Regions from separate parts of the Homo sapiens genome. Here regions 1, 2, 3 and 5 are each linked to region 4. Evidence: promoter capture Hi-C in 16 types of primary human blood cells and fetal thymus (Javierre and others, 2016). All regions are on one chromosome and are shown on one strand. Each heading gives the region's core, a stretch centred on a gene start or on the middle of the fragment in contact. The rest is flanking DNA. Distances are from core to core; before and after follow the strand shown. Region 1 has its middle 130 kb from the start of RASGEF1B. Region 2 has its middle 36 kb from the start of BMP3. Region 3 has its middle 30 kb from the start of BMP3. Region 4 holds the start of PAQR3 (progestin and adipoQ receptor family member 3). Region 5 overlaps BMP3 (bone morphogenetic protein 3).

Region 1 (5,493 bases), core at 2,548-5,047, 2.4 Mb before region 4:
ATAAATTTATGAACCAAAGAAATGTAACTGAAATCATTGGGACCTCCTCACATGCCACCTCCTGAGTGAATAATGATTAGATAATTGCTTTTCACTCTAGGCAGAAGCCTTGTCATTAAAACTCATTAGCTGTCTTGCAATTTGCTTGCCTTCTGAAGAGAATTACTGTGAATATAGTACCTGAAGGGTCAGCTGGGCAGCACAGGGGCTGGCTTAGATACATGGTGGAACAACGGGAAAGAATATTAGGAAATGCAAAGCCAGCACATGTGTTATCACTGGCAATTTAGAACATAGCCTTCCAAACAATAATCCCAAATACTACCTAAAAGAGCAAAACCAGCTGAGAGAAATAGCCCAGATGTTTTCCTCTGCTTGTAAAAGAAAACACCACACAATAAATTGGGAGAGATGACATCAAAGTAGTCCAGGGTCTTAATGAAGTGAAAGATATCCATACGGCTTTTGTGCATTTTCTGCTGTACCATGGCATGAGCTCCTCTGGATCTGGCCAGCTCATATTGGAAAATACACATCTGGAAACAGTGTCACAAATGCTCCAAAAGCTAATTCTTTCATTGATAAGTAGTTGCTTCTTTAGGAAAAATGAAATAGCACAAGATTCTCAGTTAGGCAGATTATTTACCTCCAAGAAAAGTAAGGAGTTCCATGTATAATCTAAAATAACAGAACAGAGAGTAATCAAAGCAGACCTTTACCCTTTTGAGGGTAATGACACCTAAAAGCATTTAGAAGCAGACTGGCCTAGGTTTATATGCCAGTTCTAGCATTTACTCAGCTTTGTGATGTTGAGCAGGTTAAAGAACCAGTTAGAACATTGGATACGTCAGAGTCCTTGGTCTGACTTGTTTCAGTGAAGCCAGAGCGCTGATGTTGGATCTTCTGACATTTTGTGGATGTGTTCTGCTTAGATCCTCTTAGATCTCTAACCATTTCCATGCACACCAGCCGCGTTTACAATGGCCAATACCTGCTCTTGGGCTGCTGGGATCCACTTTGCCAATTGAAATACCTAGGAATTACCTATCCCCTAGGAGCATCATTACAGATTACTTAAGAGGGTAGGAATATGAATACCCCAGCTCTGCTTCCCCTTAGCAGGATAACTTGGATGTGTGTGTTTTATTCCATTTCCCAGAGCTTCCCAGTTGGATTAAACTCCAGCTGCCCACTGAAGGTAGCTGGCTTAATAATGTGCCTGTATTGACTGCCTTATTTTCTCCATCTCGTCTGTCCCTGGATCTCCCAAATAAACTATGTGTATTCAGTTCTTATTTCGGGGTCTGCTTCTCAAGGGAACCCCACTAACATACACCCCGACTGAAATAATTCCCCCTCTTTAACCTTCATATGGAAAGGAAACACATCTCAAAAGTGAGGGGTACTGCAGATAAACATCAGTGGAAGCTTTTTTGTTTTTTTTTTAAATCAGAATGCAGCTTCTTACTGGATGCATATCGTGATGACTTCAGAATTATTAACCCTTCACTTGCTCAGTGTCTCCCACATTTTCCTGTGCTCTGCTCTGTATGTAGTGTGGGAGGAATTCAAGTTCAGAATAAACTACTTGGCACTATCCCCTCCCCTCAAACAGAACATGGTGATTGTGGGATATCACAAGACACTCTTGGCTAAAGCAATTAAATATAGGGAAGATGAAACTTTTATGTTAAATAGGAGGTTCTAAGATGATATGTAAATCAAATTTTGGTCTAAGAAAAATTTAAGATTATTTATTAAAACTACATTTCCAGCCACAAGCCTCAGAAAAACAGATTAATAGGTCTAAGGTGTAAAACCCAAGTATTTGCATTTTAAATAAGTGTATCAGTTTTAAAACCTGGTCCCCAAATTCGTTGATGCTCCTTGTATGGAGAGCTGGATTCTGTCTCCTCTCCTTGACTCTGGGTAAAGTCACTCTTTAACCAAGAGAATATAGTGGAAGGGATGCTGTGCAGGTTTCTGGGCCTAGAATTTGAACAGTAGGTTCCACCTTTTGTCTCTTGGGATACTTATTGTTGGAACCAAGCCACAGTGCTATAAGGAAGCCAAGCAGCCATATGGTGAGGCCCTATGTAGGTTCCGGCCAACCACCCAGCTAACACCCAGCAACAAGCCCAAGACACATGAGTGAGAGAGTGGGCCTGCTGAGGATTCCAGCCCCTGGATGTTAATCACCTTCAAGCAGCACCTGCTGACTATGTGGAGCAGAGATAAGCCAAGCTTACCAATCCCTGCCCAGATTGATGAATGAATGACTCTTGTTTTAAGCCACTGAGTTTTGGTCTGGTTTGTTAAACAGTAATAATAACCAGAATAACAACTTATTCAGGTAACTCGCAAGTTTATGGCCCATGTACTTTGAAAAATACTCTTTCTGATAATCAAATGTCAGGAGATTATGCAAAAGGTACGGGGTAAAAACTATTAAAGAAACTAATGTGTTTTTTTCAAGATGGCTGACTTAGTGACATCAGGTGCCAGTTCTACTCGGAAAGAAGATCAAAGTTACTGGTGAATGGACAAGTTTCAAATGGAAAACTGAGGGAAGAGAACCAGAACGTGTCAGAGAGCACAAAGGAAGAAGCTGGGCTGCAGAAAAGGAAAGCAGCAAGAATACGGCAGAGATCAGCCCCTGAGGAATGTGGAGCCCTGCAGAAAGAGTAGGTGGGAGTGCTTCTCTGCTTCCCTCACCCCTCTGACAATCTGCTGACCACCAACTGTTGGGGAGCCCCTCTCCCCTGGTGACCCTGAGCAATGCTGTTAGTGGCAATTTGGGAACTTTCCAGGGACAGAGACCTGGGTGGCCAGCTCGTGTAGGTGTGCCCACACTCTCTCATACCTGAACTGAGACAGCAGGTGCCATACTGGTTGTGCACCATAGTGGGCCACCGCCCTGGCCAGGGATTCTCTGCCGTCGAGTCGCCACGCCACCATACCTAACAACCTGCTTGGACTTTGGCAAGCACAGGGGACAGTGGGTCCCCAGGAAACTGCAGAATCCCTGGAAATCTAATGGTCTGCATGGGCCCCCCTAAGGGAGGGGGGAGTACAGCCCACCAGGGCCTCCCTTGGGACAAAGGAAACAGAGGTGTGATGGCAATCAATGAAGGGGACAGCACTGATGCCTGGAAATGGAAGTGGAGAGGGGGACTTGTCCTGCCCACTGCCCCACTCCCGTCCTCTGTTGCAGACACAGCAGTAGCTCTTCTCACTGGGGGTGAGTGTGTGGACATGCGGAGAAAGCATTTTTTGTGCTTTTCATGCCAGCTCCACCCCCCACTGAAATTGACCCTATGCCACTTGGATGCCAAAGGACTGGACCCAGCTACTCCTCCCTTTGCAGAGCGGCAATGTCTTGGCAACAGAGGACAGAAAAATTATGGAGCTGCCTGCACTGGACTGCGGGAAGGGGCAAAGCCTCTTCAACTCATTTTGGCGGTAGCCATCAGAGGGGCATATCCGTGTCCTGCAGTCACACTGTGGTCAGGAATCAAAGGTCACAGTCTTTATGAATTGAAGTTCATAAGTCCTCTGACAGGAGCATGATAGGGAAGTGGGTTGCATTCCTGCCTGCTCTGGATGAGGAGCTGGTGAATCCCTCCTGCTCCTTCCTCCAAGACCTTGGCACACCTCAACACAATCTCTTCCTACCCCACTACCCTGCATCAGAGAAGGTGTATTCTTTTTTATTTAATTATTTTTATTTTTTTATTTTTTATTTTTTTTATTATACTTTAAGTTCTAGGGTACATGTGCACAACATGCAGGTTTGTTACATACGTATACATGTGCCATGTTGGTGTGCTGCACTCATTAACTCGTCATTTACATTAGGTATTTCTCCTAATCGTATCCCTCCCCCCTACCCCCACCCCATGACAGGCCCCACTGTGTGATGTTCCCCACCCTGTGTCCATGTGTTCTTATTGTTCAATTCCCACCTATGAGTGAGAACATGGGGTGTTTGGTTTTCTGTCCTTGTGATAGTTTGCTCAGAATGATGGTTTCGAGCTTCATCCATGTCCCTACAAAGGACATGAACTCATCCTTCTTTATGGCTGCATAGTATTCCATAGTGTATATGTGTCACATTTTCTTAATCCAGTCTATCATTGATGGACATTTGGGTTGGTTCCAAGTCTTTGCTATTGTGAATAGTGCCGCAGTAAACATACATGTGCATGTGTCTTTATAGCAGCATGATTTATAATCCTTTGGGTACATACCCAGTAATGGGATGGCTGGATCAAATGGTATTTCTAGTTCTAGATCCTTGAGGAATTGCCACACTGTCTTCCACAATGGTTGAACTAGTTTATGGTCCCACCAACAGTGTAAAAGTGTTCCTATTTCTCCACATCCTCTCCAGCACCTGTTGTTTCCTGACTTTTTACTGATTGCCATTCTAACTGGTGTGAGATGTTATCTCGTTGTGGTTTTGATTTGCATTTCTCTGATGGCCAGTGATGATGAGCATTTTTTCATATGTCTGTTGGCTGCATAAATGTCTTCTTTTGAGAAGTGTCTGCTCATATCCTTTTCCCACTTTTTGAGGGGGTTGTTTGATTTTTTCTTGTAAGTTTGTTTAAGTTCTTTGTAGATTCTGGATGTTAGCCCTTTGTCAGATGGGTAGATTGTAAAAATTTTCTCCCATTCTGTAGGTTGCCTGTTCACTCTGATGGTAGTTTCTTTTGCTGTGCAGAAGCTCTTTAGTTTAATTAGATCCTATTTGTCAATTTTGGCTTTTGTTGCCATTGCTTTTGGTGTTTTAGACATGAAGTCCTTACTCATGCCTATGTCCTGAATGGTATTGCCTAAGTTTTCTTCTAGGGTTTTTATGGTTTTAGGTCTAACATTTAAGCATCATGCTACCTGACTTCAAACTATACTACAAGGTTACAGTAACCAAAACATCATGGTACTGGTACCAAATCAGAGATATAGACAATGGAACACAATAGAGCCCTCAGATATAATAGCACAGAACTACAACCATCTGATCTTTGACAAACCTGACAAAAACAAGAAATGGGGAAAGGATTCCCTATTTAATGAATGGTGCTGGGAAAACTGGCTAGCCTTATGTAGAAAGCTGAAACTGGATCCCTTCCTTACACCTTATATAAAAATTAATTCAAGATGGATCAGAGCAGGCTGTTTTCAATCTTCATCAGCCCACCTGAGGATGAGCTGGCTTTTACTCTTAAGCACCTCCAATGTGGCTGCGGGCCATGGATATTGCTTCAGTTCAATAAGCCTGAACTGCACTACCAAATAAAAATCCTGCTGTCAGAAGGGCTTAGTGCTAGTCCAGAGATAAGCTTCTTGAATCCTCCACACCCTCAGCCCTGCGGGAGATAGTGTGTAAGCTCATACAATACATAACTACAACAAACAGCATCTGAGAAAGCACACAGAAGCTATCCACAACCGAGGAACCCAAACAGAGCCTTAGGCCTCTGAAAGTAC
Region 2 (5,419 bases), core at 577-3,076, 2.1 Mb before region 4:
TATTTGGGATTTCAGCATTCAGGTTTATAGCATTTGGGATTGTATATTTTGGGATTATAATCAGTTACCTTTGAAACCAAACTCTGCCTCTTTCTAAAGTCTGGATGATTTTGGGTGAATGACTCAACATTTCTGAACTTCACTTTTCTCACCTTTTAAGATGGGAATATGATGCTCTGATGAGTATCAAAAAACATACTGTAGGAAAAGTGCTGAACACAGTTTTTGTGTGGCAGTTACTGTTATTATTTAATCAAAGTGTGGTAGGCTCTCTGAGCCTATTCATTTAAAAGAGAAATGAAACACTTACTAAAATGCTCACAACTATGAATATTCACGACTGGACCATAGAAGATAATGACTCCTCCAGGAGACTGCAGGCTTCAGAAGCTTTTCTGGGAATTTCTTCAAAGCACTTAACCCACAGTGGGTGCTAAATAGACAGCAAGTCCCTTTTCTGCCACATAAACTGGTAGCATTTTTTTTGAGATCTTTTTCATATATTATTTGTTTCAGAAAATTTCTAAGGTGCCCAAGCAAAGTTCCAAAGCACACACTGATACATCACACTTCTTTTCTGGCTGGGACGAATTACCGAAAAGTTAAAATACTTCTCTTTATTGAATCCCTGAATCTTACGCAGCTTTTAAAAATGAAAACCACAGCCTTGTGATGCTTATTTATGTTACAGAGGTTTTGAGCTGAAAATGATCCTCAATATCATCTGAAAACCCCATTGTCTCAGCCCAAAATCTCCTTAAGCTGATAAGCAACTTCAGCAAAGTCTCAGGATACAAAATCAATGTACAAAAATCACAAGCATTCTTATACACCAATAACAGACAAACAGAGAGCCAAATCATGAGTGAACTCCCATTCACAATTGCTTCAAAGAGAATAAAATACTTAGGAATCCAACTTACAAGGGACGTGAAGGACCTCTTCAAGGAGAACTACAAACCACTGCTCAATGAAATAAATGAGGATACAAACAAATGGAAGAACATTCCATGCTCATGGGTAGCAAGAATCAATATCATGAAAATGGCCATAATGCCCAAGGTAATTTATAGATTCAATGCCATCCCCATCAAGCAACCAATGACTTTCTTCACAGAATTGGAAAAAAACTACTTTAAACTTCATATGGAACCAAAAAAGAGCCTGCATCGCCAAGTCAATCCTAAGCCAAAAGAACAAAGCTGGAGGCATCATGCTACCTGACTTCAAACTATACTACAAGGCTACAGTAACCAAAACAGCATGGTACTGGTACCAAAACAGAGATGTAGATCAATGGAACAGAACAGAGACCTCAGAAATAATGCCACATATCTACAACTATCTGATCTTTGAGAAACCTGAGAAAAACAAGCAATAGGGAAAGGATTCCCTATTTAATAAATGGTGCTGGGAAAACTGGCTAGCCATATGTAGAAAGCTGAAACTGGATCCCTTCCTTACACCTTATACAAAAATTAATTCAAGATGGATTAAAGACTTAAACGTTAGACCTAAAACCATAAAAACCCTAGAAGAAAACCTGGGCATTACCATTCAGGACATAGGCATGGGCAAGGACTTCATGTCTAAAACACCAAAAGCAATGGCAACAAAAGACAAAATTGACAAATGGGATCTAATTAAACTAAAGAGCTTCTGCACAGCAAAAGAAACTACCGTCAGAGTGAACAGGCAACCTACAAAATGGAGAGAATTTTCGCAACCTACTCATCTGACAAAGGGCTAATATCCAGAATCTACACTGAACTCAAACAAATTTACAAGAAAAAAACAAACAACCCCATCAAAAAGTGGGCAAAGGATATGAACAGGTGCTTCTCAAAAGAAGACATTTATGCAGCCAAAAGACACATGAAAAAAATGCTCATCATCACTGGCCATCAGAGAAATGCAAATCAAAACCACAATGAGATACCATCTCACACCAGTTAGAATGGCAATCATTAAAAAGTCAGGAAACAACAGGTGCTAGAGAGGATGTGGAGAAATAGGAACACTTTTACACTGTTGGTGGGACTGTAAACTAGTTCAACCATTGTGGAAGTCAGTGTGGCGATTCCTCAGGGATCTAGAACTAGAAATACCATTTGACCCAGCCATCCCATTACTGGGTATATACCCAAAGGACTATAAATCATGCTGCTATAAAGACACATGCACATGTATGTTTATTGCGGCATTATTCACAATAGCCAGGACTTGGAACCAACCAAAATGTCCAATAATGGTAGACTGGATTAAGAAAATGTGGCACATATACACCATGGAATACTATGCAGCCATAAAAAATGATGAGTTCATGTCCTTTGTAGGGACATGGATGAAATTGGAAATCATCATTCTCAGTAAACTATCGCAAGAACAAAAAACCAAACACTGCATATTCTCACTCATAGATGGGAATTGAACAATGAGAACAGATGGACACAGGAAGGGGAATACCACACTCTGGGGACTGTTGTGGGGTGTGGGGAGGGGGGAGGGGGGAGGGATAGCATTGGGAGATATACCTAATGCTAAATGATGAGTTAATGGGTGCAGCACACCAGCATGGCACATATATACATATGTAACTAACCTGCACATTGTGCACATGTACCCTAAAACTTAAAGTATATATAAAAAAAAATCTGAACCAGATCTTGTCTAACGTAATGATAAAGAAACTGAGTCCTGGAGGTGCTCATGAACTGGTCTCCATTTCTGTTTCTTCTCTCTTCTGTTACTCCTTTTATGCATTTTTGACATGGTGCTCTAGATAGAGGGGTCACAGCTGCTCAGAGTGCTCTATTGTAAGCATGGTTCAGGAGTGGCAGGTTTCATGTAAGTTGGATTCTGTTCACTGGTAGGAGATCAATGTGTGAGTGGCTTCAGACGGCTTTGCTTTGCTTTCCAGATGAAAACCTGACAGAGTCCAGGCACCTTGGATACCGCTGTGTGCTGACAAATGACTTGAAAAATGGGGGATGAGAGAGGGTGCTGGTGGGTGGGAGAAGGACCAATCTGCTCCTGGGAATACTTTAGACAAAAAAACTAAGGGCTACAAAGTGACTCTTGAGTATGTGACTTTTTAAAACCCTCATTTATTTTAACTGGAGCAGCTCTTTTCGTCATGAGTTGTTTTATATTTTACTTGATATGCAATGTCAACTACCATAGAATTGGTCTTGATCCTTCTTATTATAAAGGCTAAGTTAGAAATTAATTTCATTTTTAACAATGTATTGGGCAAGCTTATTATGGGAATAAGAGGAAGTGTACTTTGTCCACTCTTTATAGTACTTATTCTTCTTCCTCTGTATGATATTGGAATCTGAGTTATGTGCAGAAACATTTACACTTTAACCTTGGTTTGTACACAGAGAAAACCAAAATTCAGCTTTTTATCCCAGAAGTTAATTTTGCATTCCAAACTTTTAATAGGAGTGTTTTATATTCCTCTGGATAAATCTATTTGACCCTCACAATACATATTTATGTACTTAATTAGTAGACCCTGATTCTGTGATCACTTTTTTTTTCTTTTTGTCAAGACAGTGTCTTTTTACATTGCCCCGGCTGGTCTCAAACTCTCGGCCTCAAGCAATCTTCCTGTGTTGGTGTTGGGCTCCTAAAACACTGGGATTACAGGCATGAGCCACCATGCCTGACCTGTGACCACTTTTTAATATTCTATTGGAGCTAACTACCTTCCTGACAATTCCGGATGAGTTATGTTGGGTGTGTAACATTGGGAAATAGTATATGTATTTCTGACCCTTGATAATTAAAGAACAACAATAAAATGGTATCAGCAGAAAGAAACAAGAAAAAAGGAAAGGGAAGAAGGAAAAAACGAATGTAGAAAAAAGGAAGGAAAGGAAATAGGGAGAGAGGGAGGAAAAATACTGACTATAAGGAGAAATTCATTGTGTGGCTAGGTTAAGAGCCAACAGAAAGTAATGGGTTTCTATAAAAGTAAGAGGCTTAGGTAAATAGAGGAAGCTCATGAGAAAAGGCAAAAGCTCAATTTATGCTCATCTTTTGTTTTATGTTCCTGAGAATCAACACTCTATGCTACTAGAGATTTCTTCCCCATTGAAGTCTTTTATTGAGGCCCTGTCCACTATGTGATTATTCCTTGTTGTTCTGTTTCTCTACTCCTGGTAGAAACAAGAGGGTATTGAGGGATGTCTATGTTCAATTTGCTTAATTCAGTAACTTGCTGATAGAGATCAGGCGTGCGCTCTAGCCAAAAAGAGTGGAATCTGTAATCTTACATAGCAGACTAAAATCACCTCTTTTCTGTATATTGACTGTGTGATCTTGTGCAAGTTATAAAACGTCTCTGATTCTCACTTCCTTAATCTGCTTAATAGGGAAAATAATTAGTTTTTATAGAAGTGTGCTTGAGGGACGTTGTACCAGAGTGTGAGAGGCAGGTGTGAACATCTCTTCTAACTCCATGATCAGAGATGCCACATTCGTAGCTTTAAATAGAAATATTAGTAGTGAAAATATTTACACTACAGAAATTGGCAAAGACTTCAAATCAGGGTTTTTTTTCTTTTCAGAGATTGTTATTAAACATTTATTACCTCTTTGCTTATGTATGAAATGAGATAATAAGTAGGATTTTGCCAATTGTAGGGATGCAGTATATATTTTCCTTACTTCAGCCATCCCTATAGAATATTTGCATCTGAAAACCTTTGATTTTTATGCTTTTAAATAAAATAAAACAAATGACAATAAAATTTTACTTAGAAACTCAATTTCATATTACAATCTCTGTACTTTATGATATTTTATCTGGCTCAGTTCTTTTTTTCTCTCTATCTTTTGACACTACTCTGAAGAATTCAGAAGTTCCGTCACTTTTCTTGAATTTTTCTTACATGATGTCTAGTACAGTGTCCCATGAAGATAATTATTATATTGCATTTTGATGATGATTTTCAGTGTGAGCCTAGATTGTTCAATATTATCTTTAATGAACAGTGTTAAGAGTTAAAAGTTCAATGCAAAAATTATAATAGTTTTCACACATATTAAAGGTGGAAGAAAGTTTTCGTGAGGAAGATGATCTATGTGCTGATCTGCGGAATATGCTAAGATATCCCTGTGAGAAGGGCAAGACTAAAGAGTAAGACAGATGGGTCAGAGAGGACCGAATTGCTAGAGAAAGGGCAGAAACCTGGGATATAGCTGAAAAGCTTTGTGTCAGTGAGAAGTTTGAGGCACAGTTGGAAGAGCAGACAAAGACTACACCTTAAAAGGCCAACAGAGGAGTTTGTACTTCCTTTACCAGACAAGAAAAGGATGCTAGAGTATGAAATAATCAGAGGTACATTTTAGGAAGAATAATTAGGCAGTGTAAACTACGAATTGGGAGAGGAAGGATTGCAGAGTCATA
Region 3 (5,814 bases), core at 1,191-3,690, 2.1 Mb before region 4:
GGTAATGGAAATGTTTGACATCTAGCTGATCCAGTAAAGGTAACCATTAGTCACACGTGGCTATTGAGCACTTAAAATGTGATTAGTTGGACTGAGAAACTGAATTTTAAAATTTTATTCAATTTTAATTAATTTAAAGTTAAATAGCCACCTATGGCTAGTGGCTGTGGTTTAGCACAGCCTCAGATTCACACTCTCCCAACTCTTTCGTCTACTAAGGGAATTTTTCTGAGTGGTTTAATTTTTTGCTAGACCTTTAAATCTTAGGCCAAAATGAAATTCCAGTCTGCCTGTCATTCAAACTACTGAACAATTGCTTTTATTCAGAGTCTTTCCACTGTCAGCCACTGCTATTTATGTCAATTAATAGACAAATTACTATTCGGGACCTCTTGTCTCTGATGATGGTCATGGTAACACTCTTCAAATTCCCAGTGGTTCAAAGCAAACATTATTTTTTAAGTAAGAGGTTTTATAGTCCAAATAATTACTTTTCATCAATTATGAAAGTCTAGGATTTGGCTTCGTCATTTTTCCATAAATTCAGTAAACAAAAGAATTCAAAAAATACTTGATCAATAAGTAGCTTTAATCATTCCATTTTTAAAACTTTCTTTAGTTTTACTTTGTATACCAATTCAGATTTGTAGGCCATCATCTATATGTGCCTGACAACCATTCTAGAGGCTACTGAGCCTTCTCTCAAATTCGAATTTTATTCCAGAAAGCTGCAAAAGAAATAATACTAACAAAGTCCAAGATTCTTTAAGATTTTTTATGTAAGTAAAATATGACATTTTAATCTAAATCAATATACTCATGTTTAGACGATTTCTTCCTTATTCTCAAAGCTTGAGGTTATTTTCTCATAGGCAGTTCAAAAAAATGTTGCAGAGGAGTCTGCTTGCTACAAGACAGAAATCTCATTCATCTAATGTTAAATTATAGATCTCAGTTCTGTAACTAGTTCAAGTGGGATAGAATTTAAAGTCTACCCCATTACACTGTGAAAGAAGAAATGGGAACTGCTGATGACATTAGAAGCAAAGGGACTTTGAAATGCTCTCAGCCTATCCTATCACACCTGAAGCCTCTCTTTATAATATGCTGCTATTCCTTGGATGTGTTAGAAGGTGGCTTTCAAATCAAATGAAGCAGAAAGCAGAGCTCCAAGGGGCCGGTTTTGACACACACACTCCCTAGCTAGGCAGGTCATCTACCTCTGCATTACAAAATCATCTGAAGATTACTAACAGTTCCAAGCTTCCATGTATTATCACCAGCCTATGGGCACTGGCTTCCATTCAGTATTTGTCTATGTGACTGTTTCAGCTGCCAAATTTTTGATATTATACCATTAATTTTTTCATTTCTAATAAATGAGATAATTTAGTGAAATCACATATTCTAGGCCCATTTTAAAAAACCCACTTATGTTCATGTGTGTATATGTCAGTGTTTATAGTGATGGAAAATCTCCAGAAAACAGGGCTGAAGTCCTGTAAACACCAAATGTTTTCCTTAAGTGAGTTCGTTTTGGGGAATGCTCTTTCACATGATTCTTGCACATAATTGCCTCACCTCTGGACTGCTGCATTCACATCTGGCCTGAGCCCCCATGAAGTGGGGGTTGGTTTTCATTGCAACTTGGTGGTAGTTTGCCTATGTGCTGAATCTGAAAAGGTTCAGCATAATATTTTGAGCAAAGGGTTGGATCATGACCATATTTCTCTCCCTGCTTCTGTGATGTTCTAGTAGAGCTAGGCATTTCTCTCTCGGTTTCTTTCCCTTTCTTCCTCCCTCCTTCCCCCATCCCCAGTTCCCAGTTGTGAGCAGGTTGGAATGAAGGGAACATGAGGAAGAAACACCTGCTACCCGCTGATTTAACTTTTTCTAGGACATGTGTGTGTATGTGTGTGTGTATGCGGTGTGTGTGTCTGAGTATAGGGCTGGGATCAAGGGAATAAGGGGAAGAAAACACCTGCTACTCTCTGATTTAACATTTTCTGGGATTGGATTTTTTTTATTGCCCTCAAGGCAGTATTTTGATGAAACAAAAAGAAATGAGGAATAAACTCAAATCAAGTTGCCACCAACTAAAATTGAGCAGGCAGGGTAAAAATAATGCTTCTCAGGTATTCTGACCTTGTTAATTATCAACAGAGTAGCCTCCAACTGTCTTGCAAAATAGAGTTCTCTTTCTCTATGGGAGGTATCTCAAATACTCAGACAACTATGGCCTTGGACTTGAAGCAAACCAAAGATGGATTTTCTTTCCACATCCTCTGATGGACCTAGAGAAAATAGGCATGGTACACAAGGCAGGGAAATTCATACCAAAAAATGAAAATAAAACAAATCCCAACTACCTAAAATGATTACTGTATATAGTGTTTGCTTAAGTTTCATAACTTATGTTTATTTTAATTTTAAAAAGATAAGAGACAGTTCATATCACAAGATATGTTAGGCAAGTCACTTTTACCCCATTTCTCATTTTCCTCTAAAGGGCGCTCAACTTCCACCCCACTGGCTAAGAGAAAACAGTGCTGGGAGATACTTCTTGTTTTTTTCTTCCTCCTCTCATGGCTCTTCCCCATGGGAGAAGGAGCAATGATCCTACCGATGACAGGGTAAAAGCTGGTGGTTTGACCATTGGTTCATATTTTTAGTGGGGCCATGTTAAGATTTAAAGTTTAAGTCACCTGTGCTGTTGTTCTTTTGGCGTGTAGGGAAGGCCAGAATTTCCTGTTTAGTGGCATTGTGGAGATGAAGGGGAGGCTCTTATTAGTATACTACCTCTATTCTCCTTAGACAGGAACAGGAATTCCTTTGTACTCTCTGGGTGGAAACGGTGTTGAAGTAATATTTTCTGCTCTTGTCCCTATCCTTTCTCTTTAAGGGGAGAGACATATCTGATTGACGATGAGAAGAAATGGGAACTGAGAGTACACAGTTCAGCCTCACTTTGACTTTCCCTTTTTCAGAATTTATTTACTCAAAATGCACATTTTTCCATTTTCCAAAAATTCAACTCACTGAGACCATCTCTGTACCACCCGGGTTGACCTGAAATTGGGTGGGGAAGTTCAACTCAGGGGAAAGTTCTCAGATCCCAACACTAATCAAACATTACCCCATTATTAAAACTTTTTTTTGCTTTCTTTATGATGCGATAGTCTATTTTCCTCAAATTTCTCAGGACTCCAAGGAAAGATGGGTGAAATTACTCTGGCAGCTTTCTTTAAGTAGAGGCAACTGAGGTGAAGTGCAAAAGAATAGGACAATTGGGGTGAGATTATCGCTGCTGGAATCCCAGCCCTGATGCTACTAGCATGGTTCTGACCTAAGGTGTGTCAGTTATTCTCCTGGGTCAGTAAAGTGAGGATAATACGCACCAATACTTCTCAGGGTCAAATGAGGACTCATTCATGGAAGTGTATAAAATGCATTTAAAAAAATCAAAAAGCAAATTTCGAAGAATATTTACTTTGTGCTATGAACATTTATAAGTGTTTCATGTATAAAGGCTCAAGTAATTTTCACAGCCCTGTAAGGCAGGCTCTGTGTTTTGTTCTCATTTTACACATGAGGACATGGAAACAGAAAGAAGCTTAATAACTTGTCCAAGGTCCTACAGTAAGTGACAGAGTTGAGATTCTAACGTAAATTGTCTGCCTGTAAGCCTGTATCTATGAAATACAATATGCATAAAAATAAACTTTCATATACCAGAAATACACATATATAATATTTTAGTCTATTTTCTACAATTCATTTGGCTTTGTTTTTCGTTAAGGTATTAGATGCCTTAGTTATTTGTTAAAATATAGTAAGACAAATAATATCACCTACTTTTTATTATTAAAGTAAGAGGAAGAATGCTGTAAATAAAATGTAGGTATGAAAAGTAGAAGAGTCTCACAAACCCCATCACATGATAGAAGTGAGATAGAATCAACAATCTCCTAAGTTGAGGGACGGATGATCTATTACCCTGGTCCTTTCTTGTGTTCTCTCTTTCCCTTCCATCGTGACTTTTGTTGTTGCTTTTTTTCCCAAGACATGATCAGGAGAAAAATATTTATAAGTTGTGATTTAATATGGATGTTTGACTCATGGATTCTGGTATACTAGAGCAAAAAGGAATTTTTAACCACCACCTGGAGAAAATTAGGACATGTAAGAGGTGAAGGAACTTAGGAAAGTGCTCAAGCCCAGAGCTTAGCATTGCCATAGATTCTGATGTTGCTTCAAATGCAATTGAAAAAAACAAATATAACCCAAATTAAAATTTAAATATCATATTGTGAGAACATCCACTTTTTGTGAACAAAAGAGTATGAAGGGAAGGCTCACGGGGTTCTCACATTTTGTATGTTGTGGATGTAAATATATATAACTCTGTAACATTGTGCTTTTCCTATGTGAATATATTTTCATTTTACTGGTTGATATTCACTTGTTAATAGTTACATATAGCTAACTTCCAGTTCTGAGACTGCAGACAATGTAGGCATTAATGCTTTATATCATCAAGCACATCTCTACCCACTAAAATAGAGTTTTGTATGATGTGAGCAATCCTTGGTAATACTAAGTGGATGTGTGCTCAACGTTCTTATTCTTAACCTTAATTCCCACCATACCTTCTAATAGCTACAAAGATCAATTCTAAGTGGTATTTCAAGACAATCCTCTGGCATGAGAACTGAGGCAACTCTTTTGAAAGTATTCATTAGTCACAAAACTGGCTACCCTGAAAGTATGATGATTCCATCAATATTCCTCAAAGGCATACATCACTCTGCTACTAACTGAAAGAACCAGAATTCAAACTCAAGGTGGTATTATCTCAAGGAAGATGCTCTCTCCATAATGTTACAAAGAATTCTAATACCAGTTTTTCCAGTTGCTAGTCTTATGCAATTGGGCATACTTACTCCAGTATATCATAGTCAATACTGTTTGGTTGCAAGTTACAGATATTGGCTTAAACCAGCATAAGTACAAGTGAGTAATTGTTGAGTTTTCAGGGATAGCCAGTGCAAACCAAGGACACAAAGTTCGATTTATGAGAAAAAGATACAGGAACTAAAATATCATCAGGAAACAGAGCAGCCACTCTTTTTACTATGCAAGGCCCAATGCTCTATCCCTGGCCAATTTATTCTTCTCTCTTCACAACTAGCTTTTACAACGTTTCCACATGCCTGCTAAAAATCACTGGAAGCCTCCATTGCCAGCCATGCTGCTAAATAACCTCTCAGCTTTACCAGCATTGGTCCAATTTTGTCATGTGTCAAGGAACCATTCCTGTTGGTGGGGGCCAGTTCCAAAGGGAGGCATGATGGGTAGACATCCAAACTTACAGTATAGCATGTCTACATTTCCTCACTGGAAAATGGGAAGACTACATTAGATAATAGTAAAAATAATAACAATTGATATTTACTAAGTCTTTATTCTGTTTTAGACACTTGGCTAAGTCATTCACATGTATTATCTCATTAAACCTTGTAACAACCCTAAGAAGCAGAAAGTTTATTGTCCCATTTTATAAGTAAGATAAATGAGGCACTGAGAAGTTAAGGAACTTGTTCAAGATGATCTTTAAAATTTCCTTGTAGTTCCAAAATGCAAACATACACAGTGTTACAAAGATGGATTAAAATAATAAAAATAATATAAAAGCATATTTTATTTCTTAATTTCAGGTCATTTTTTTTCCTTAAAGAAAAAACTATGGCCTAAACAAAAAATGGCTAGAATATATCTCAATGATAAGATTAATTAAATTTAGATAGTTATCAT
Region 4 (6,087 bases), core at 1,120-3,619:
TGGTACTTTTCTAAGACTGTTACATGGATTTAGTCATTTAATCCTCAACAACACAAAGTACTGTTATTAGTCTTATTCTACCAATAAGAAAACTGAGGCTCAGAGAGGTTAAGTTACCTGCACTAGGACATGTATTAATAGTTAGTAAATGATTGAACACAAATTCGAACTTAAGTAAATGGCTTCAAAGTCCAATATCTTAATCACTAAGCCATACTGCTTCTCAAAAATCAACCAATATTACTAGCATAATAATAATAGGTATTATGAGTGATTATTGTATGTTGTCAGGGTTCAGAACACCACACCCACCCCAAAGTGTGGTGCTTTGACATGCTGAGTACTTTAAAGGAGACTGGGAAGGCCTCAAAACTAAGGTCTCTCTGAACTTCTTTCCGTCCTCCTTTCTTCCTTTTCCTGTTCTTCCCAAGTGGGTCTTACAACCTAGAATTTCTCTCCCTAAAGGAAGCCATAAAACCTAGTAAGGGGCCGGGCGTGGTGGCTCACGCCTGTAATCTCAGCACTTTGGGAGGCTGAGGCAGGCATATTGTTTGAGGTCAGGAGTTCAAGGGCAGCCTGTCCAACATGGTGAAACCCCATCTCTACGAAAAGTACAAAAATTAGCCGGGCATGGTGGTGGGTGCCTGTAGTCCCAGCTACTCGGGAGGATGAGGCAGGAGAATTGCTTGTACCCGGGAGGTGGAGATTGCGTGACCCGAGATTGTGCCACTGCACTCCAGCCTGGGCTTCAGAGTGAGACTCTGTCTTCCCCCAACAACAACAACAACAAAAAATCTAGTAAGGTTACTTTCTGACTGTCCCTGCCTTTCCGTGGTCACAAAGGAGTTCTGACTTACCTCACCTGAAACTAGGTCATAAAACCCTCATTCTAGAGAGTTCCTGCCCCATACTCTGAGGCCAAGAATTTGAATGAACTGGCCTTGCTAGCTAGGATCCCCCCTCAGTTTATTATCATTAGATGATGCCCCCTTTCAATCATGTTTCTCCACAACTATCCACTCCTTTCATCAGACTTAGCATAAAAAGCCCATTTTTTCCTGGGTCTTTGTGTCTTCATTTCTGAAGACTCCTCTGTCACATAAAACTGTGTTAAATGAATTTATTATCCCTTTTCTTGTTAATTTTTATTATTTATTTTTTGAGACAAAGTCTCGCTTTGTCACCCAGACTGGAGTGCAGTGGCACAAACATGGCTCACTGCAGCCTCGACCTCCCAGGCTCAAGCAACCCTCTCACTTCAGCCCAGAATAGTTTGGGACTACAGGCGCCCATCACCACACCCGACTAATTTTTGTTTTTTGTTTGTTTGGTTGGTTTTTTTTGTAGCGACAGCGTCTCACTATGTTACCCAGGCTGGTCTCCAACTCCTGGGCATAAGCAATCCGCCTGCCTCGGCCTTCCAAAATGTTGGGATTACAGGCATGAGCCACCTGCGCCTGGCTTCTCTTAATTTTTTTCATAGGAATGTCAGCTGTGAACCTTGTGATAAGTGAGGACAAGATATTTTTCTTGCCCTTACAATGCCAAACAATGGACTAAGCGTTCTATTATACACATACGGTACTCAAACTGATGTTTTGCCCTGTTGCCATTATAAGTAAACACTTGCATTACAGTAAATAGCCAGAAACAAAGCTGCAACACTTCCTGTAAACGCTACTATAGCCGCACTCCACAGGATTTTTTAATATGTTCTATATTATTCAGTTAAGTAGATATTCTCATTTCCATTGTGATTTCTTCATCAGCCCTTGAAATATTTGGTGTATTGCTCCTATTCCAGACGTGGAGACTTTTAGTTTTCTTGTTACTCTAGTTTAATTCTACTGTGATCAGAGAACATAACGCTGAAAGGGGTCGGAGTTTTGAATGCACGGGGGCTTTCCTTTATGGCTCAGGATGTGCTCGATGCTGGTGTATGTTCCACGTGCATCAGGTTTCCTCTCTTTCCAATTATCGTGCTAAGAGCTGACTTCAGCTTAGAAATCCTCAAAGTCCCTTCTGACACTAAGTGTGTGTAATTCCAAGCATAAACTAAACGGTAATTACCTCGAACTTTTCTTCCTGTTAACTCTTTTCCTCTTGATTTTTCAAAATGCAGCAACTATTACTTCTAATAAAAAAACAGAAAAAGAAAAAAAATCCACTTGTATTCGCCTGTAGCTCTGTGCTTTCGGCTCTTCTCATATGCAAACGAAGACCCCAGGCGCCGCCAAAACACAGCGTGAGAGACGCCCGGGAGCCCGGGCCGCCGCCAGCGCACGCTCGAGCACACCCGGGCGCGCCCCAGCACCCTGCCCCTCCCAGCTAGGGCTGAGGGGCGGGGCCGCCGCGGCGCGCTGACGTCAGAGGAGGCTGCGACGCTGCCGGGTCCGCCGCGGCGCTGGCGGCAGTGGCCGGTGTGAGCGCAGAGCCGGGCCCTGGGCAGCAGCGGCAGCGCGGTAGGACCTCGCGCAGCGTCCGCGGGCTCCGGGGCGGGGGCGCCAGCGGCGAAGCCCCCTCCCCGGGGAGGCGGGACCTGGGGGAGCTCCCGAGCCGGGGAGCGGCGGCGGCCGGGAACGATGCATCAGAAGCTGCTGAAGAGCGCGCATTACATCGAGCTGGGCAGCTACCAGTACTGGCCGGTCCTGGTGCCCCGTGGCATCCGCCTGTACACCTACGAGCAGATCCCCGGGTCCCTCAAGGACAACCCGTACATCACCGACGGCTACCGGGCCTACCTGCCGTCCAGGCTGTGTATCAAAAGGTACGGTCTGGCTGCCTCCGCCTGGAGTGCCCCCTTCTCTCACCTACACCCTTTTTGTCTGGTCCCCCTTCTGCTTTCCCCGCCTTTCTGCTTGCCCATCATTTCCTCGCCGCCCCATCCTTTTCATCCCTTTTTGCCGCCTCTCCTCCCCCGTTATCTCCCCTTACCTGGCCGGGGTACTTGGTCCACGGAATAATCATGATAGTAACAGTGATCATAATTACAGCTCTCCTATGACGCTTTGCTCTTTACAAAGGGCTTTTACATCCTTTATTCGGTTTGTTCGGCTCATTGAGATATATATTGAAATGGGGCTGAGCCATATTTGCCCGGTGTATACCTTTCTTTTTAGAGCAACACTGTGGGAATTCAGTAGCTTTGGGCCAGATAAGTGCCTGTATAATAGGAAACAAGTTAACATATACACCCGAGATTTATTCATTTGGCAAATACTTATGGAGCCCATGCAGAAAAAAAAGCAAACATGGCCCTTGTTTTCATGAAGCTACTAAGGTGTAGCCTGGGTAACAGACATTAAATAGATAATTACACAATTACATAATAACCATTGTGGAAAAAATGCTGTGTAGGAAAAGTACTGTGGTAAAGAGAGCTCATAACGGGCACCCAGTCTCCACTAGAGCACCACAGAAGCATCTCTAAGAAAGAAATTTCTTTATCATTTTAAACCTTTAAAACCACAGTCCCTTGAAAATCCGTGTTTTAAAAAAACAAAACTGAAAAATAACTATTCTAGTTCTTGGAGTAACTGTCCAAACTTACTACCTGTACTAAAATACAGGACCTCTGCTTCAGGAGAATTAAGATACAGGTGTTGGTTAGCTCCAGGTCGCTGTAGTGGCAAACCCTAGTGCCAGAATGTGGGCTGTTGAATTGCTCAAGCGGCAACCACATGTCTGATTCTTGATTTTTCCAGCATTGTCTTTTCCTGCCCTTCTTTCCTTTTGTCCTGCCATGAAAGTGTTTCTGTGACTCATGGTCACAAGGTGACATCACTGCCCATCCCTACTTGGCTTGAATGGATGGCCCTTAGGATTCACAACTTGAAGCGTAATTACCGTTTTCCTCCCCAGTGCCTCCTGTGCATGAGTAAATTACACAGCTGAGTTCTGCTGTGGATCTGGAGTTCCACAAGAATAGGGCAAGCAGTGAATTGCCTTAAATATTTTCTACTCAACTAGCAGTGGTCTTCTGCGTTCTGATGTTAGGGTCCAAATCTCATGGAGTGGAAAATTAAGTATAGAGCATTAGCTCTTGAGCTATTGAGTCAAAGACTTTAGTATCCAAATCTGCCACTTAACAGCTCTGAGACCTGGAGCAAAATGTAACCTCACTGAGCCTCATTATACCCACATATAAAAATGAGGGTAATCACAGTATCTGCTTCCAGAGGTAAAAAAAGATTCAGTAAGATTCTGTGTGTGAAATGCTATACATGGCCTGGAACCTAATAAGCCGTCAATAAATGGTGATTGTTGTCATCACCAGTGGTTGTGAAGCTGAACAGATGATGATAATGAAGATGATTATTTGATTTTAAAACTGAACAGAATACGAAGATGTGGTGCTGGACTCCTGTTAACTTCAATAAGGATGGCACCAGGTTCGAAAGACGGAAGAAGAGACCCAAAGCCAGTAAACAAGACATAGGGTTTTACTAGGGTAATTTACAGAGAGGTCCAGTGACAGTGGCCTGAACGGGAGAACCTCTGCCGCCTGCAGAAAGCATGCAGTTTAAATAGCATTTTTACTTAGCACCCTTCCCCCTAACAACCTCCATCTGGTAATCTTCATTTGCAAAACAAAAGGCCTCCATCCCATGTACAGTCAGCATTCCATGAGATGGGACAGGGGCTCAGATGTTCCTCATAGATAAGGAATCAGTCTAAGGGTTGGCCGTGCTTGGAATTGTAAACACACATTCAAGTGTGTTTTTCATATAGGGTCATTCTCAGGGTATGCTTAAGATACTGCTGTCAGGTGTGTCTACTGTGCAGGAGACACCTAACTTTTCGTACAGTAAGAGTAGATTCTTTATTGGAGATGTTCTTGCCTTCCCACCAGCCTTATCTTTTCCAAGTTTAGCCTTTGCCCTCTCTCCTTTTGGCTTTCAGGAGTGACGGGGACAGATTTTGGATGTAATCTGAGGAGGTTTTGTATGTCATAGCAGTTTTGCCAGTCCTCTGTTAGCTGCAGGGAACATGGAGAGGTGGTGCCTCTCAGTTCAGTTAGTCAGGTTATACTGGATTTCACAAAAAGAAAAGTTCTGAAGTAATAAGCAGAGCATAGTACTGATTGTCAAAACAGTCCTGTAGTTAGATGTTTCAAGCACATTCGTGCATCCCTTCCTCCAGTTATAAGTAGTCTTTACACTTGATGCTTGTACATGATAAAGCCTGAAATTCATGATCCAAGATTCACTTTATTTTTGATGATCATTTGATAGTTTTGACACCTTGCTATATACATCATGTATTTGGCCTTCACTGATTCAGAAATCCTTACTAGTAAGCGTTGACGTATAACTAAATTTGTAGCAGTCACTATGGTTCTCACTTTCATTGTTACAAGAAATGAAGTTGAGAAGCAAAGCAAATAGGAAATTCCATTTCTTGTAAAAATGAGAACCTGAGAACCACAGTGACTGCTACAAATTTAGAGTTATATGTCAATGTCATTATGTCAAGGATTTCTGAATCAGTGAAGACCAAAAACCTAAATTTAAGCAAAAATACGAGATTTTGCAGACAAATGCAAGAGTATTTTAATCTTTAGTCATGATGTCACCTTTCAGTAAATAATCAGATGAGTCCTATCTACATCTGGAGAACCATTTCACAAAAGTAAGAAAGGAGCTAGAAGAAAGTTGCAGCAGCATCTAATGAAGCTCCATTACTGTATAGATGAAGAAACTGAAGCCGGGAGAGGTTAAGTGACTTGTGTAGGGTGGGGACAGTGAGCCTCTTGACTCAGGGTGGTACACGCTCTAGCAACCTGTGCTGCCAAGTCCAGTTAGCCCAGGGCATTTTGAAAGAGAGCACGTAGTACCCATATTAAAAGTTAAGTCCAGTTGTTTGTGAAAAGGAGAAACTTATGCCACCTGGAAACTAGACTAGTTTTAAAACATCCACGGCAAAGTTGTTCTGGCATGCCTATCTTAAAGAACCTTTCCAATGGATCAATATATATTTATTTTGCTTCTCTTAAATCCATTTAATTTTGCATTTGTATTTAATGAGCTCTAGGAAAGTATTTTAAGATGATGCCTAACCTTGCACTGAGCAGGTTTTCAGATACGT
Region 5 (5,569 bases), core at 1,869-4,368, 2.1 Mb before region 4:
GCATCAATCCCATCAGCTCTTCTCTGTGCTCCCATGACATTCACTTATTCCTTGAATACTCTTCCAAGGTCAGCCTTCTACCATTTGGGGCTTGCTTACATGGACAGGTGCAGGTTCACACACAACCATGTGGCTGAATATGCACCATGTTGAGAAGCAACACAACAAGTATGTTTCACACATGTTTTTTTCTCATATCCTTCTTTATACCAATACTGACTTCATATGACTTTAACAACCATTAAAGAGAAACCAAGAATAACCATATTACCTATTATGGTTTAGAATGTAGTAAATAAGGGTCCCAATGGATTTTGCAAATGGAAACACAAACACTTACACAAACCCCCTATATGCACACTAACTTAGTCAATGTGTCTTTCTACTAATGGAAATAGGAAGTAAGTACAGGACAGAGAACAATGGCTACCTTTGGCATGGGGAACTGGCATGCTCCAGAGCAATAATAGGCATCAAAGGACTTGGGGGAGATAATCCATTCACTCCAGCCAATATCTGCAAAGTCTACCTTGAGGTATCTCCTGGCGCAATTCCGAGGTTCAATCCACTGCTTTCTCCTTGCCTTTTTCAGGGTCTGCTCATCAAATTGGAGCGTCTGGCTCTTCCGATGAGGCCCCTTTCTCTGTTTCTTTTTATTCTTACTCTTTTCAGGGGCCTGAGCCTGAAGGGTCTTGTAAGGCTTTCTCTCCTCCCACACCTCATCCTTTTTATACTGGTATTCTGCCCCAGGAAGCTCGTTGTTCTGCAGAGGCAGCAAGACCCCAGTAGAGCGCTTCTTCCTCCGCTCAATGGAAAGGGCAGCTCTGATGTGGCTATCCCATTTGGGAACAGTTCCAGTGGGAAAATTCCGGTGTCCCTGTAAGCTTGATACCACACTTTCTGGCTCAGAAATGGCGGCATCATTGGCATATACCAAGATATAAGGCTCTGGAAAAGGTAACCTCCTCTTTGGCAGCTGGCGTCCCTTGGACGTAATGTTAAATCCTATGAGGAACTCTTCATTTTCTTTGGCCTTCCTCAAGAGTTGAGTGATATCTTTAGACAGCCAGGACATAATATCTCGATGAGATTTGGCCATATCCACTGACAGATGGCCAAGGAGTTGACTTTGGTTTCTGCTGAATTTGAGGGTCCATGCAGAAAGATCAATCTGAATGTGTTTCCTCTGAGCATGATGGGAGCATCCTCCAGACACTGGACAACTCAGGCTGATGTTTCCTAGCTCTCCAATACAGAAATACAGTGTGGCAGACAAAATGTTTTCAGACTTGGTTAGCGATGTCAGATTGAAGATATACAGTCCTTTTCTTTCAAGAGTTTCTAGGAAGGAAAAAGAAAGAGAGTAAACAGGAGAAAACAAGACCATTACTTCACTATATGACAATTAACTCAAAATGAATCAGAAACCTATATATAAGAACTAAATCCATGAAATTTTTGGAAAGAAACCTAGGGGTAAATCTTCATGACTTTGAATTTGGCAATGACTTCTTAGATATGAAGCCATTCTTAGATATGACACCATAAGTGTAAGCAATAAAAGAAAAAGTAGATACATCAATAAAATCGGTAAATTTATAAAATAAACTGGACTTCATTAAAATTAAAAACTTTTGTATATCAAAAGACATTGTCAAGAAAGTGAAAAGACAACTTCCATAATAAGATAAAATAATTGCAAATCATACATTTGATAAATCTAGTATCCAGAACATATAAATAACAGTTACAACTCAGCAATAAACAGACCAAGAAACCAAATAAAAATGGGAAAATGCCTTGAATAGACATTTCTTCAAAGAAGATATATAAATGGCCAAGAAGCACATGACAAGATGCTCAACATCATTAGCCATCAGGGAAACACAATCAAAATCACAGTGAAGTACTACTTGATACACACTAGGATGACTATAACAAATAAACGAAAAAACCCAGAAGGTTACTGAGAAGGTGGAGAAATTGGAACACTCTCAAATTGCTGGTGGGAATGCAAAATGGTTCACCTGCTGTGGAATACTCTTTGGCAGTTCCTCAAAAAGTTAAACATAGAATTATTATGATTCCGCAATTGCTCTCCTATGTATACACGCCAAAGAATTGAAACAGGCACTCAAATAATTACATGGTTATAGCAGCACTAGTCACAATAGCCAAAAGTTAGAACAGCTCAAATGACTACCAATGGATGAATGGATAAAGAAATTGTGGTATACCCATACAATCAAATATTATTCTTCCATGAAAAAGAATGAAGTACTGACACATGCTACAATGTGGATGAACCTTGAAAAAACTATGCTAAATGAAAGCAAGACATGGAAGATCACATATTGTTTGATTCCATTTATATGGAATATCCAGAATAGTAAAATCCATAGAGACAGAATCAGATCGGTGTTTGCCAGAAGCCAAAGGGAGGGGCTAATGAAAAGAAACTCCTTAATGGTTACAGGGTTTTGTTTTAAAATTGTGGAAATATTTTGGAACTATATAGACTTGGTGATAGCACAACATTGTGAGGGTATTAACTGTCATTATATTGTTTACTTAAAATTAGTTAAATTTATACTATGTGAATTTCACCTCAATTAAAACAAAGCAAAACAATTATGCAGTCTCTTGCTTTGGAGGCTTCCTGGAAGTGGAATAAAAAGAGAGTAATAAACAGGAATAATTTTAAAAGACAAAAAAAGGTTAGCAAGGATCAGCCATTTTAATTACTTTGCTCTTTCCTTTACTGAAGCACCATAAATGTGTGAAAATTTTAACGGAGAAATAAACTTAAAGGGGTGAAAGCTCAGAGTTATGGAGGATTGTCAAGACTTATTCCTACAAATTTGGCAATGTATTGTAATAGCTTTTTATCTGAGGCACGTATAGCCTACGGGCTACAAACACAGGGTTTGGAATTACACTCACCTTGATTCGAGTACTCGCTCAGCCACTTACCAACTTCACAACATTATACAAGCTAATATTCTCATTCACAAAATGAGACAATATCTACCTCCCATGTCATCAGAATTAAATGAGACATGTATAAAGCAGTCCATAAAGTGTCTGTGAAGTGTTTCTTAAATATCAATTATTATTGTTATTAGTTCTGGTATTAACAGTCTTACAGGGATTACATCTTCTTCTACCTACTTCAAAAAATGTAGGATGAGGCCAGGTGCAGTGGCTCATGACTGTTATGCCAGCACTTTGGGAGGCCAAGGCAGGTGGATCATTTGAGGTCAGGAGTTCAAGACCAGCCTGGCCACCATAGTGAAACCCTGTCTCTACTAAAAATACAAAAATTAGCAAGGCGGTAGTGGCACACACCTGTAATCCCAGCTACTCGGGAGGCTGAGGCAGGAGAATCGCTTGAGTCTGGGAGGTGGAGGTTGCAGTGAGCCGAGATGACACTACTGCACACCAGCCTGGGCAACAGAGTGAGACGCTGTCTCAAAAAAAAAAAAAAATTGTAGTATGCTTGATAAGCATTGGGTAAGCAGGATCCAACGCATCTCAATATTCAAATAATACATCTGAAAAAATAAGGCATACTGCAAAAATGTCAAAAAAGAAAAAAAAAGAATGCTGTTGTGGAGCTTGTTTGAAGTTTATGACATTCCATAAATTTAAGAGTTAACTTTCTATATAGTGCAACAAAAATGATTAAAATTGTTCACCCATACTTCCAATTCTTCAAATCCAGAAATGAGAGAGAAGAAGAGAATGAGAGATTTATTAATAGGTGCAGAATTTGATTCCTCTCCTTTAGCTCATAAACCGAGATCCACAGGACTGAGGTTAGAACTCTGGAATCTCCCATCCTGGGATCAGTCACCAGAGCCTAAGCCCTTCTCCATGCACTTGTTTCATATACATATTTGTTTCAGAAACACACACGCAATCGTGAAATTATGTTCTTGATCAAAAACATGTTTCAGTAAAAACAAAACATTTTTATAAAGATGTGGAAACTTAAAATGAGTTCATTGAGTCCCCAAGCACAAGGGAAGTGCAATGGGAAACATATTCTATTCATTTTTAACACTGTGTGAAGGAAAAGGAGGAAACTGCCATTGGTGCACATTTGTATAATCCATGACACCAGGATAATATTTTACAGACCTTTATAACAAAGCCATGGCATCAGGACTGTTCAGAGACTTGAGCCTTAATTCATACCAGTCACCGGAGCATATACTTTTACCCAAATTTCGTGTAGTAGCTAGAAGTTTAAAGTGGAAGGAAGAGAAGCCACTCTGTTCTAGGTATGTGGCAATCCAATGGTTGCCAAACAAACATGCTGGCAGGGAATAAATGATCTCCAAGGGATATGAGTGGCAGTAACTTAATGGGTAAACCAATCCTGCCCTTTGCCCCACATTTTGCTTCAAAATATTTTCTTCTTTCAAACATGTTTCCTTCTAGTCACCTTGTGACCTGCTGTTAATTAGCCTCTACCTCTGTGTCTAATCTACAACATCGTTTTGTAAAAGTCTCAGAATCTGTCTTACTGCCTCTTCCAATGGCTCTCATTTTAAACCAGTGCTTTCTTATGAAGTCAAAGCCTGTTGGTCCAGTTGCAATTTCACTACAACCAATAGCAGCCCTCAGACAAATAACCTAAGCTCTTTAAGTTTTGGTGTGCTTATCTATAAAGTGGGTCTAGTAGTAGCAACTATAGAGTTGTTGCGAGGATTAATTGAGAGAAGGCACATAAAGCACACAGAAAGTATTCAATAAATGTTAGCTAACTAGAACTGTGGTTTCCAGTATGATAGTATGTAGCCACTTACATTCAAATTGAGATGTGCTGTAAGTATAAAATACATACTGAATTTTGAAGACTTGGTAAGAAAATGAATATAAGATATCGTAGCAATACATTTTATATTAAGCCAGTGTGTGTTAAAGTGACTTTATTGAACTATATTGCATTAAATATATTATTAAAATTAATCTCACTTGTTGCTTTTCACACTTTGAAATGTGGCTACTAAAATTTTTAAATTACATATGTGACTAACATTTGTGGCTCCCCTTATATCTCTATTGGATGGTTGTGGTCTAGAATAATCACTAGTTTTGTAGTCAAAATGGAAAGGAAAAAAAAAAGACTATGCCATGATGATAATACAAGCTGCCGAAGGTGTTAGCTATGCTTGGAGCAGAATTGGGAGCCATTAACTTTACCCAGGTAGAGGCAAAGAAACACACAGGTAGGAAGTAATCTTTGGACCAGACTTTTAAAGATGAAGGAAGAAAGAAATCTTGGTGAGGGGATGGAAGGAACACATTCTAGCAGTATGCAATGCTGTATGTCTGGAAGCTTTTGCAAAAGAAATGTTGCCAATGTTTTAAATAGAAAATATAAAAATACTTACAATTAACTTAGTTATTGAAGTTCTAGTAGTTCTATAGAATTGAAGTTCTAGTGAATGTCTAAGTCATCCAAGTTGAGCAAGGAATGGCCAATCTGAAGGCTAACCAAAGGCATTATGTTATGCCCAACACTTGATGTGTTTGCTCTTGTTATTTCCACCTAGGCTAG

Evidence for each region. Contacts are between HindIII fragments. The CHiCAGO score rates a contact against its expected background, and 5 or more counts as called.
Region 1: a contact is called between a fragment that was not itself captured here and the fragment with the promoter of PAQR3 in region 4, in 1 of 17 cell types (neutrophils). The highest score is 5.8, in neutrophils.
Region 2: a contact is called between a fragment that was not itself captured here and the fragment with the promoter of PAQR3 in region 4, in 1 of 17 cell types (M2 macrophages). The highest score is 6.2, in M2 macrophages.
Region 3: a contact is called between a fragment that was not itself captured here and the fragment with the promoter of PAQR3 in region 4, in 5 of 17 cell types (M2 macrophages, naive CD8 T cells, M0 macrophages and 2 more). The highest score is 13.3, in M2 macrophages.
Region 5: a contact is called between a fragment that was not itself captured here and the fragment with the promoter of PAQR3 in region 4, in 1 of 17 cell types (M2 macrophages). The highest score is 5.7, in M2 macrophages.

What each region holds. Positions count from the first base shown.
Region 1 is chr4:81,343,552-81,349,044 of GRCh38, reverse strand. No RefSeq gene overlaps it. Among named protein-coding and RNA genes, the nearest start is that of RASGEF1B, 130 kb to the left of the region's middle. The HindIII fragment of the contact is 3,101 bases long and covers 2,247-5,347 here.
Region 2 is chr4:80,991,705-80,997,123 of GRCh38, reverse strand. No RefSeq gene overlaps it. Among named protein-coding and RNA genes, the nearest start is that of BMP3, 36 kb to the left of the region's middle. The HindIII fragment of the contact is 2,867 bases long and covers 393-3,259 here.
Region 3 is chr4:81,057,904-81,063,717 of GRCh38, reverse strand. No RefSeq gene overlaps it. Among named protein-coding and RNA genes, the nearest start is that of BMP3, 30 kb to the right of the region's middle. The HindIII fragment of the contact is 2,350 bases long and covers 1,266-3,615 here.
Region 4 is chr4:78,935,720-78,941,806 of GRCh38, reverse strand. It overlaps PAQR3 (progestin and adipoQ receptor family member 3), which reads left to right and starts at 2,369. Exons shown (of 6, transcript NM_001040202.2): 1 at 2,369-2,767. The coding sequence starts at 2,583. RefSeq lists silencers at 2,190-2,679, 2,770-2,839. The HindIII fragment of the contact is 16,646 bases long and covers 1-6,087 here.
Region 5 is chr4:81,041,510-81,047,078 of GRCh38, reverse strand. It overlaps BMP3 (bone morphogenetic protein 3), which reads right to left. Exons shown (of 3, transcript NM_001201.5): 2 at 431-1,341. Among named protein-coding and RNA genes, the nearest start is that of BMP3, 14 kb to the right of the region's middle. The HindIII fragment of the contact is 4,463 bases long and covers 887-5,349 here.